Linked DNA regions of Homo sapiens: region 2 is linked to region 1. Evidence: promoter capture Hi-C in 16 types of primary human blood cells and fetal thymus (Javierre and others, 2016). All regions are on one chromosome and are shown on one strand. Each heading gives the region's core, a stretch centred on a gene start or on the middle of the fragment in contact. The rest is flanking DNA. Distances are from core to core; before and after follow the strand shown. Region 1 holds the start of RNF144A (ring finger protein 144A). Region 2 holds the start of ODC1 (ornithine decarboxylase 1).

Region 1 (5,137 bases), core at 1-2,500:
CTCCCGAGTAGCTGGGACTACAGGCGCCCGCCACTGCGCCCGGCTAATTTTTTGTATTTTTAGTAGAGAGGGGGTTTCACCGTGGTCTCGATCTCCTGACCTCGTGATCCGCCCGCCTCAGCCTCCCAAAGTGCTGGGATTACAGGCGTGAGCCACCGCGCCCGGCCAGTTCAATGGATTTTAAAAATTATTATTCTCTAGAAAAAAGACCACGAACTTTGGAGTGGACATCCTGAGACCTGCCTACGAAGACCATTAGGGTAAAGAAGTCACCCCTTCACCCCAGGACCAGGAAGCCTCCAGGATGGCATAAGCGACCAAACAGCTGGGAGCCAAGCACAGTGCAGGGGGCTTGGGGTCGGCGGCCGGAGGCTGGGGTGGGTAAGACCCGCAGGGAACTCCGGGGCTCGGGCGGCGGCTCATTCCCCGGGAAAGGGCTCGCGGTGGGGACCAGGGGCAGTAGCAGCCGCGGACCCCGCGCGCAGGGGATGTGCGGGGCATCCTCTTGGCCAGTTCCGACCTTCCCCGCCGGTGGCGATGCCCCGGACGCGTCGTCCTTTCCCAGACCTCCTCTTGGGGCCGAGGCTCCAGCCCCAGGGTCTGCGGGCGGGGCCGCGAACCTTGAAAGCCCCCGCCGCCAGCTCGCCCGCGGGACCCTGGCCCGGGGCGCCCTGTCCCGCGCCGCAGCGCAGACCCGCGACCGCGCAGGGCAGGCAGGGGGACGCCAGGTCCCTAAGCGCCCACTGCCCTGGGGCGCGGGCGCCGCCTGCGAGAGGCAGGGCAGGGCAGGAGCAGAGCAGGGACGAGGTCAGGGACACGGGCAGGGCAGGGCGGGCGTCCTCTGAACGGAGCCCGCGAGTCCCCGCCCGGGACGCTGCCCCCCGCCCGCTGCCACCGGGCGCCGGGGCAGGACCCAGCGGGGCAGGCGCGGCCGCAAGCCCCGAGCCCCAAGGCCGGCCGCGCAGCGCCGCGTCCCGCCCTCCCCGCTCCGCGGCCGGCCCGGGCGATGCGGACACAAAGGGGACGCGCGTCACTCTACCTGGGCCTGCTCGTCCGCGGTGCGCGGCTCTGACGCCTCCGCCCGGTACTGGCTGCGGGGTGCCGGGTGCCCGCAGTTTGCCGCCCGCGCCTCCCCGCGCCCGCGCAGCCCGCACGGCCCGCACTGCAATGCCAGCCCTGCCGCCTCCCGCCTGCCGAGAGCCCGCGCGGGGAGAAGCGGCTGCGCGGGCGGGGCGCGAGCGCGCACAGAGGCCGGGCACGCGGGAGGCTCGGCCCCGGCCCCGCCCCCGCGCCGAGCCGCACAGCGCCCCCTGCCGCCCGCCTGCGCCGGCCCGAGGCCCGGAGCCGCCCCGCAGGCCCCAGGACAGGCTCCGGCACGAGGAGGGGCTGCGGAGACCGCCCGTGCACGCTAACATGAAAATGCTATTCCTGCTTTAGTGGCCTCCAGAAGACACTCCCCTGATTCCTACACCGAGGGAACACACAGCAGCAAGCTAGGAAAGAAGGGGTGACCCAGCCCAACGCTGTAAACCAGGGCGCGAACCGGCGTTGAGCTGTGCAGCTGCGCCCTGGGCTCCAGTCCTGCTCTGCCGCAGACCCCACCGGAGCCAGCACCTGCCTCCCCGACCCTCGCTGGGGCGGCTGTGAGATGAGCCCAGAGCCTTCCTGAGCCAACCCTCGCAAGGAAAGTCTGTCTGTTCACCCCACTATCCTTGTCTTGAAGGATGAAGAAAAGAGGGCCCCCCGGGAGGTCCCAAAAGGTGGAATGGACATCTGGGATCCAAGCACAGCAATTTCTTTATTTTTCTTAAGGTATCCAGCTTGTTGGAATCTAAGATCTGCGAAGGTATTAATAGAATTCCTGCATCTTCTGCCACTCCCCATAGAAGCTTGAAGTTACACAAATGTTAAATTATACGTCAGATGTGCATATATGAACAAAACCTACGAGTGTGCATGAAATAACACCTTCTTAAATATATAGATTCTTTTTTCTGCAATATTAAATGGAAACCCCACTAGAACATCGTTTTTCCTTAATAGCATACCCTCCACACTGTGTGGTCTAAATTCAAGCTCTACCACCTACTAGCCATTAAGCAAGTTATTAAGGTCTTCGTGCTTCCATTTTCTTACGTGGAAAATGAGGTGGCAATAGTATGTATGAGTTCTTCGGAGGGATTAAACAAGTCAAATAGGCCAAGTGCCATGGCTTACACCTGTAAGCCCAGCACTTTGGGAGGCCAAGGCAGGAGGACTGCTTGAGCCCAGGAGGTCAAGGCTGAAGTGAGCTGTGTTTGCATCACTGCACTCCAGCCTGGGCAGCAGAGTGAGACTTTGTCTCTCAATAAATAAAGAAATAGTCAAATTAAATATAACTGGCAAACTAAAACAACTCCATAGTCCTTAGCTACAATTTGTCTCATTTCTCCAAAGAATTAAATCAGATGATTCTTAACTAACTCAAAGCTCTGCATAATTTGTCTTCTGCTACACATACATCTTTATAGTAAAATAAAATAAAGCTGTCCCCTCTGTATTGAGAAGTTATTCTGGTAAATATTTGACCTCTTCAAATATATGAACGAGCACTTGCCTTCTAATGCCTCAGTTTCAGATTCTTTTTAGAAATGTCATTATTCAAGAAAAATGCACAATGGGAAGAATCTTAACAACAGCACTTTGTTACTTCAGCCTCTCACTAGAGGATGAAAATCGTTCTGCATAAAGGCCTGGGCTTTATGAAAAATATATTCACACCTCCCGTGTCCGAGCTGGGATACCAAAGAAGTTCCTGGTTGAGTACTACTTATGAATGAAGGATTCAGGGGATGCACAGGTGGGTGACTGCAAATGCACAGACGTTGTGCTGTGTTCCCCACAATAAAGGGGTCTGTATTAAGATGCAGGCATTCTCATGGAACACAGACGTATAACACTCAAGCTGGGGGACTGCAAAGGAGCATCTGGGGCTGCAGGAAGAGAGTTAAGGTGCAAAAATGCCCTGACCCAACTGAGACTTGTAATTGCTCATGTGGTAATACATGTGACTTCATTCCCCTGCTCTGTCTTTGTGAATGCAACCATTGTTGGGGAGATAGTGAGAGGGGACACTGGCATTGAAAGTTTTGTTTGCAGCAGGCCTCAAAAGGCACTCAGATGCAGATTTCCCTGCAAAGACTTCCCGGCCTATCATGGAGTTCCCCATCCCTAGATCTCTGATCTCTGAGCTGGTGTAATACTTAGTCTTTGTCTGTGTTGATCATGGCATCTGCCACACTTAATGTTTGTGGCATTCACTTTCTGATGCTTAGATCTTACGATTCTAGAGAACAGCATTTTTCTACATATTCCCTCTTAGGGCCTTGAACATAATAAGTGCTCAATAAATACTGAGTGAAATCCTCTACTCTGAGCTTTGCCTCTGAGCAGCTGTCCTAGTTCTCTCCAACAAGAAGTTTGTTGGGTCTCTCAAGTTCACTTCCACCTGTCACTGTCAGTTTTCAGTCCAGCCCCTTACTCAGGTCTGGCTGGCCCATCTCCCCCAGAGGGCTGTCCCATAGAGCCCATTGTAAAGGACACTCATTGTTGCCAAGAGTTTGTGCCAATGCAGTATGACTCACCCTTCACTCATTGAACAAGCTCTTCCTGATTACCTAGATGGGCAAAATTTCCCTGCTCATGCGAAGCAGGCTGGCGACTCAGTGCTGCAGCAAATGGCCCAGAAGCTGGGAAAGCAGATAGCCGTTCTGACACTTCTCTTCTAGACAGAAAATCAAGGGAAGCTCAAGACCCACACTTGAATTTTTTTTAAAAAATTAGACAAGGGGCTGGGTGTGGTGGCTCATGCCTGTAATCCCAGCACTTTGGGAGGCCGAGGCAGGCAGATCACCTGAGGTTGGGAGTTCAAGACCAGCCTGACCAACATGGAGAAACCCCTGTCTCTGTTAAAAATACAAAATTAGCCAGGCGTGGTGGCACATGCCTATAATCCCAGCTACTCGGGAGGCTAAGGCAGGAGAATCGCTTGAACCCCAGAGGCAGAGGTTGCGGTGAGCCGAGATCGCACCACTGCACTGCAGCCTGGCAACAAGAGCGAAACTCAGTCTCAAAAAAAAAAAAAAAGAAAGAAAAAGAAAAAGAAAAGAAAAAAAATTAGACAAGGAAGTTTATGTGAATTTGTAATCACACATTCCATAAATATAGAAAATTCACTTTTTTTATTTTAAAAATTAACAAATTCCATTTCTTGTTTCTCTAGAGTAGCAGGAAATCAAATGTCAGTTCTCATTCTGACTTTCTCTCCTTAAGGACACAGAGGAATCTGGGGGATATTATGGTTCTGGGAATGTGGAATGTAACGTCTCATCTTCAGCCCATCTGTGCTACTGATCATCTCATTCCAGAAGCCATGCCTTCTCTCAGGAGCAGACAGCACAAGACTTTCCTGCCAGAGGCACAGTCCCCAGGTGAGCCACACAGCCTTCACAGGGTAATGCCAAAGAACAGAGGAGAGTTCCTGCTACTCTCCGGGTCTTCTTGGCAAAGCTTCTGATACAGTCTGGCTGTCTCTCCACCTGAATCTCATCTTGAATTGTAGCTCCCATAATTCTCGTATGTCATGGGAGGGATCAGGTGAGAGGTAACTGAATCATGGGGGTGGGTCTTTCCTGTGCCGTTCTCGTGACAGTGAATAAGTTTTATGAGATCTGATGGTTTTATAAAGGGGAGTTCCCCTGCAAATGTTCTTGCCTGCTGTGACTTTGCTCCTCCTTGCCTTCCGCCGTGATTGTGAGGCCTCCCCAGTTATGTGGAACTGTGAGTCCATTAAACCTCTTTTTCTTTATAAATTACCTAGTCTCAGGCATGTCTCTATTGGCAGTGTGGGAACAGACAGACTAATACAGCTTCCCTTGTCTGTACTCTTACCCTTCTCCCTTCAAAAGCATCCTCTCTTTCTTTTCCAACCTTTCCAACCTCTCGAATAATCTCTGCAGTGGGAGTAGCATCCACATAAGACAGGATGCAGAGATGTCTTCAAGCAGCTTCAAACAAAACTTCAAGAAAGAAAGTGCAAGTGAAAAAGGAAATTCATCCTTCCAGTCACTTAACACAGCACTGTCACGGACACCTTGTG
Region 2 (4,743 bases), core at 20-2,519, 3.5 Mb before region 1:
GTGCTCTGAGCTCCTCCAACCCCGCCCCCACCCACCCAAGGCTAGATCTAGATCTACCCACTCCTCTCCTTAACTCTTCATCGGCTGTACTCCCACCCTAAGGAGTCGAAATCCCCACCCTAGGGAGAGACATATCCTGTCTGGATTGTCCAAAAGGGAATGAAAGGTAAAAATGAAAAAAAAAAAAAAAAGTGTCCCCAATTCAAGTGCAGTGCCTCCCTGGTGCGGGCATTCCAGCGTGGCCTGGAGTGAGTGGCAGTCCACCTCCAGAGGCGTCCCCTGGGCGCTCCTAGGGACTCGAATTTCCCACGCGGCTTTTTGCTTTATGTATTCACTGTTTAGACGTTTTCGGTCAAAGCATTTTGGGACTTCCGTAACTCTCAGAGCGCGCCAGGGAGCCGCCCTTAAAGATACCTAGTTACTGATGAGTTCCATCCGGTAAAGCAGAGGGTAGTGGGCGGCTTGGAGACTCAGGATCCGGGTCCCCTCACGCTCCTGGCTGAGTCCCTGGCTTCACAGGGGAAACTACCTCCGCAGGCCAGGACCCATCTAGTTACAGGATACCTCGATGTTACAAAGACGAGGCTTCCAGCGCGGGGGCGTGGAGGCGGCTGCCAGCCCTGCCCGCAGCGTGCTGGCGACCCCCGGGACGCCCCTTCCCTCCCGCGCCTCTGCTCCCTAGCTGGTGGGAGCAGAGCGGCACCGGGATCACTTCCAGGTCCCTTGCACCGGAGGAATGGGCGGCAGCAGGGTCCGGAGTCGGCCCGGCGGGGCCCACGTGGCCAGCACATCGGTCCTCCGCTCGCGATTTCCCTTTTCCGCTCTCGGGCACGAGGTACTGAACGCCAGGTGGAAGCACAGCTGTGCAGCTACAGGCTCTGCCGTTCAGCTGCCGCGGGCCGGGGCCGGGGCCTGCGGCGTCGTGCGCGTGCGCGGACCAGTTCCAGGCGGGCGAGACCGCCGCAGGGCGGGGCGGGGCGAGGCGGCCGCAGGGCGGGGAGGGCGGGGAGAGGCGGCCGCAGGGCGGGGAGGGCGGGGCGCGAAGCCGGGGGCGGGGGCCACGCGTGGGGCAGGCGGTGCTCGGCTCGGCTGACGTCGGCCCGCCGGCGCCCCACCAGCTCCGCGCGGGCCCGGGTTGGCCACCGCCGGGCCCCCGCCCCTCCCCCGGCGGTGTCCCGGCCGGAACCGATCGTGGCTGGTTTGAGCTGGTGCGTCTCCATGGCGACCCGCCGGTGCTATAAGTAGGGAGCGGCGTGCCGTGGGGCTTTGTCAGTCCCTCCTGTAGCCGCCGCCGCCGCCGCCCGCCGCCCCTCTGCCAGCAGCTCCGGCGCCACCTCGGGCCGGCGTCTCCGGCGGGCGGGAGCCAGGCGCTGACGGGCGCGGCGGGGGCGGCCGAGCGCTCCTGCGGCTGCGACTCAGGCTCCGGCGTCTGCGCTTCCCCATGGGGCTGGCCTGCGGCGCCTGGGCGCTCTGAGGTGAGGGACTCCCCGGCCGCGGAGGAAGGGAGGGAGCGAGGGCGGGAGCCGGGGCGGGCTGCGGGCCCCGGGCCCCGGGCACGTGTGCGGCGCGCCTCGCCGGCCTGCGGAGACACGTGGTCGCCGAGCGGGCCACGACCTTGAGGCGCCGCTTCCTCCCGGCCCGGGGTTCTCCCGCGGCTGGATAAGGGTGATCCGGGCGCCTCGTTCTGCCCCCGTCTTCACAGCTCGGGGCTGGAGGGGCCTAGGGGAGACCCACCCGGAGACCCTGCGGCCCCGCGCCGGCCTCTTTCCCAACCCTTCGGCGGCCGCGCGCTGGCCGGGGAGCCGTTGGGGAGGCCCTGGCGGCCGCGCAGCAGGTGCAGGGGCGCAGAGCCCGGGCTCGCCTTGGTACAGACGAGCGGGCCCCGGCCTTGGCGCCTTCAGTTTCCTTCCAGTTTTTATTTTCGCTGTGTCTACAGAGCAGATGACACCAATTTGGAAACCCGCGAGAGTGGGTAGAGCTAAGATAGTCTTGCTGTAGTAGCTGTGATATTAGATGCTCGGCCATGACTTAGAGGTGTTTATTTAAGGACTGTGAATGACTCGGTGATTTCGGAAAAGCTTGGCTTAGATGAACGGACATACACAGGGGAGACAGCCCTAAGGTTTGCAGAAAAGGCTGATTGTGCTGTTTGCGAAGTCGAAATAATTGGTGAAAGTGTAGAAGGCAGAACCTCTCAGGAATGTCTGGGGAGGACAAAGAATGTGTTGGCTGACTTTGTTTAAACATAAAATTGGGCAGACTTTAATTGATTTGTGAAATTTTTTTCAAAGTTTGTTTGAATTAGCCCCTATCTCTTCTAACATTATCCTCTTGTGCTAATTGATTGACCATTTTAAATAACTTAGCTGTTACAGAAAGACCGAAAGGTGTTCTTCAGTAAAATATATTCAAGTAAGTTACTTAAGTAACGCCTTAAAAGATACAGAAAAGCAAAAAAGTATTGGCGTATTAAAAAGAAATCAAAACTTTCCAAGTTTAGGCCTGAACATTGCCTTAAAAATATTTAATAAGGCCTCAAATGACCCAGTCCGAGACTGCATGAGCCTATTTATTATTAAATTGTAAATATTCTTCATATAAACAAAAATATATAACCATGTCTGTAACAAAAATGGTTTTGCTAGCGTTGTTACTCTCTTCCCTTCTCCGAGGGGTGATTTAGGCAACTTCGGAGGTTGACAATGCCAAGCAGTCACAATAGATAGAGCTTTAAAGCAAATTCTATGCATGGGTTTGGATTTATGACAGGCCCGTCACCCTGGGCCTGTCATAGTACCCCATGCCAGAGCAAACTGTGTCCCCGAACCATTGCCTGGCCTCTGTGCCCGTAGGCTGCTGGCACTGAAGTGGGTTGCACAGTGGAAAAGAAGAAAGCTCTACCTGGCAGAAATTTTTAAAGGTTAAAATAAATAATTTTAAGAAAGCTGGTTCACAAGGTGCCACATTTGATGAAAGCAAAATACAGTGGCTTTTATTGTTACTAGAGTGATGTTCTTGCTTGTTTTTCTTTTTTGGTGAAGTTAGCCCCAAATTATTCTCATAGCTAAGCAAATACGAGAGTGACTGTAAGGACAGTTGGCATTCCCGGAATTGCTAAACTTGGTAGGCAACGCTGGTTTAAGAATACTGAGTTCTAGCCGGGCGTGGTGGCTCACGCCTGTAATCCCAACACTTTGGGAGGCTGAGGCAGGCGGATCACCTGAGGTCGGGAGTTGGAGACCAGCCTGACTAACATGGAGAAACGCCATCTCCACTAAAAATATAAAATTAGCCAGGCCCCGGGTGTGGTGGCACATGCCGGTAATCCCAGCTACTCGGGAGACTGAGGCAGGAGAATCGCTTGAACCCAGGAGGCGGAGGTTGAGGTGAGCCGAGATCATGCCATTGCACTCCAGCCTGGGCAACAAGAGTAAAACTCTGTCTCAAAAAAAAAAAAAAAAAATACTGAATTCTGATCAGGTAACAGCAACTGTAATACAATGTGATAAGTTGACTTGAAGATTACAGTTTTTAAGAAGTATATACCCAGCTAATACATGAAAATTAACTCGTAAAATCTCAAATGCTCCAGACATTTCCATGATGCCTGTTGGTCAGTAAAAATCATTCTAAGACTTAGTGGAAGTAGGAAATGTTTGTATGGCTGTGTATAAAGGCTATAATGTAATCCCAGCACTTTGGAAGACCGAGGCGGGTGGATCACCTGGGGTCAGGAGTTTGAGACCCACCTGGACAACGTGGTGAAATCCTGTCTCTACTAAAAACACAAAAATTAGCCGGGCATGGTGGCAGGCGCCTGTAATCCCAGCTGCTGGGGAGGCTGAGGCAGGAGAATCGCTTGAACCCGGGAGGCAGAGGTTGCAGTGAGCCAAGATTGCACCGCTGCACTCCAGCCTGGGTGACAGCGTGAGACTCTGTCTCAAAAAAAATAAAAAAGTCTATAATGCTATTTTAAGTTTCTAAGGAACTGAAACTGCTCTGAAATAAATCAGACCATTATAAGACTTTTTTCCATATCAGTGAGCTAAGTGCAGATAAGCTTCTGAAACTTGCATGCTAGATTTTTTTGGTACAAATATTTGAAATGCTTAGTGTGCTGCCTTGGAAAAACCTGGTATTTTTTGTTGTGTCCTTATACTGCCAAGGTTTATGGAATCATGTACCTTATGCCTAGTAATAATTAGGATGACCAGGCCAGTGAGTGGTTCATATCCGGGGCATGATTAGCTCTGCGTGTGCTCAGCCAGTGCCCCATCTTCAACTCGATGTGTTCCTAAGGTAGACAGCAAATTCCCTATTTTATTTCTCAGATTGTCACTGCTGTTCCAAGGGCACACGCAGAGGGATTTGGAATTCCTGGAGAGTTGCCTTTGTGAGAAGCTGGAAATATTTCTTTCAATTCCATCTCTTAGTTTTCCATGTAAGTATTCAGTTTACATTTATGTTGCAGGTTAATCTTAAGAATTGTATTGCTAAGGCTTCTAAGTGAATTTCTCCACTCTATTTGCATTTTGTTGCATTTCAGAGGAACATCAAGAAATCATGAACAACTTTGGTAATGAAGAGTTTGACTGCCACTTCCTCGATGAAGGTTTTACTGCCAAGGACATTCTGGACCAGAAAATTAATGAAGTTTCTTCTTCTGTAAGTATATGAGGCCCATGCTGGCAGTGCAGCTGAGAGTGCCAGGCAAGTGGAAAACTTTGGCAAGGTCTAAGGAAG

What was found. Contacts are between HindIII fragments. The CHiCAGO score rates a contact against its expected background, and 5 or more counts as called.
Region 2: the fragment with the promoter of ODC1 here is called in contact with the fragment with the promoter of RNF144A in region 1 in 1 of 17 cell types (activated CD4 T cells); the score reaches 5.2 in activated CD4 T cells.

The regions. Positions count from the first base shown.
Region 1 is chr2:6,913,525-6,918,661 of GRCh38, reverse strand. RNF144A (ring finger protein 144A) reads right to left here and starts at 1,250. Exons shown (of 9, transcript NM_014746.6): 1 at 1,040-1,250. It overlaps GRASLND (glycosaminoglycan regulatory associated long non-coding RNA), which reads left to right. Exons shown (of 5, transcript NR_033997.1): 1 at 1-260; 2 at 1,438-1,812; 3 at 2,695-2,839; 4 at 4,312-4,469; 5 at 4,998-5,137. RefSeq lists a silencer at 921-1,410. The HindIII fragment of the contact is 2,406 bases long and covers 1-1,891 here.
Region 2 is chr2:10,444,853-10,449,595 of GRCh38, reverse strand. ODC1 (ornithine decarboxylase 1) reads left to right here and starts at 1,269. Exons shown (of 12, transcript NM_002539.3): 1 at 1,269-1,475; 2 at 4,332-4,441; 3 at 4,547-4,665. The coding sequence starts at 4,564. It overlaps SNORA80B (small nucleolar RNA, H/ACA box 80B), which reads left to right and starts at 2,747; the gene lies at 2,747-2,882. RefSeq lists silencers at 399-1,878, 3,103-3,332 and an enhancer at 1,999-2,088. The HindIII fragment of the contact is 2,497 bases long and covers 1-2,080 here.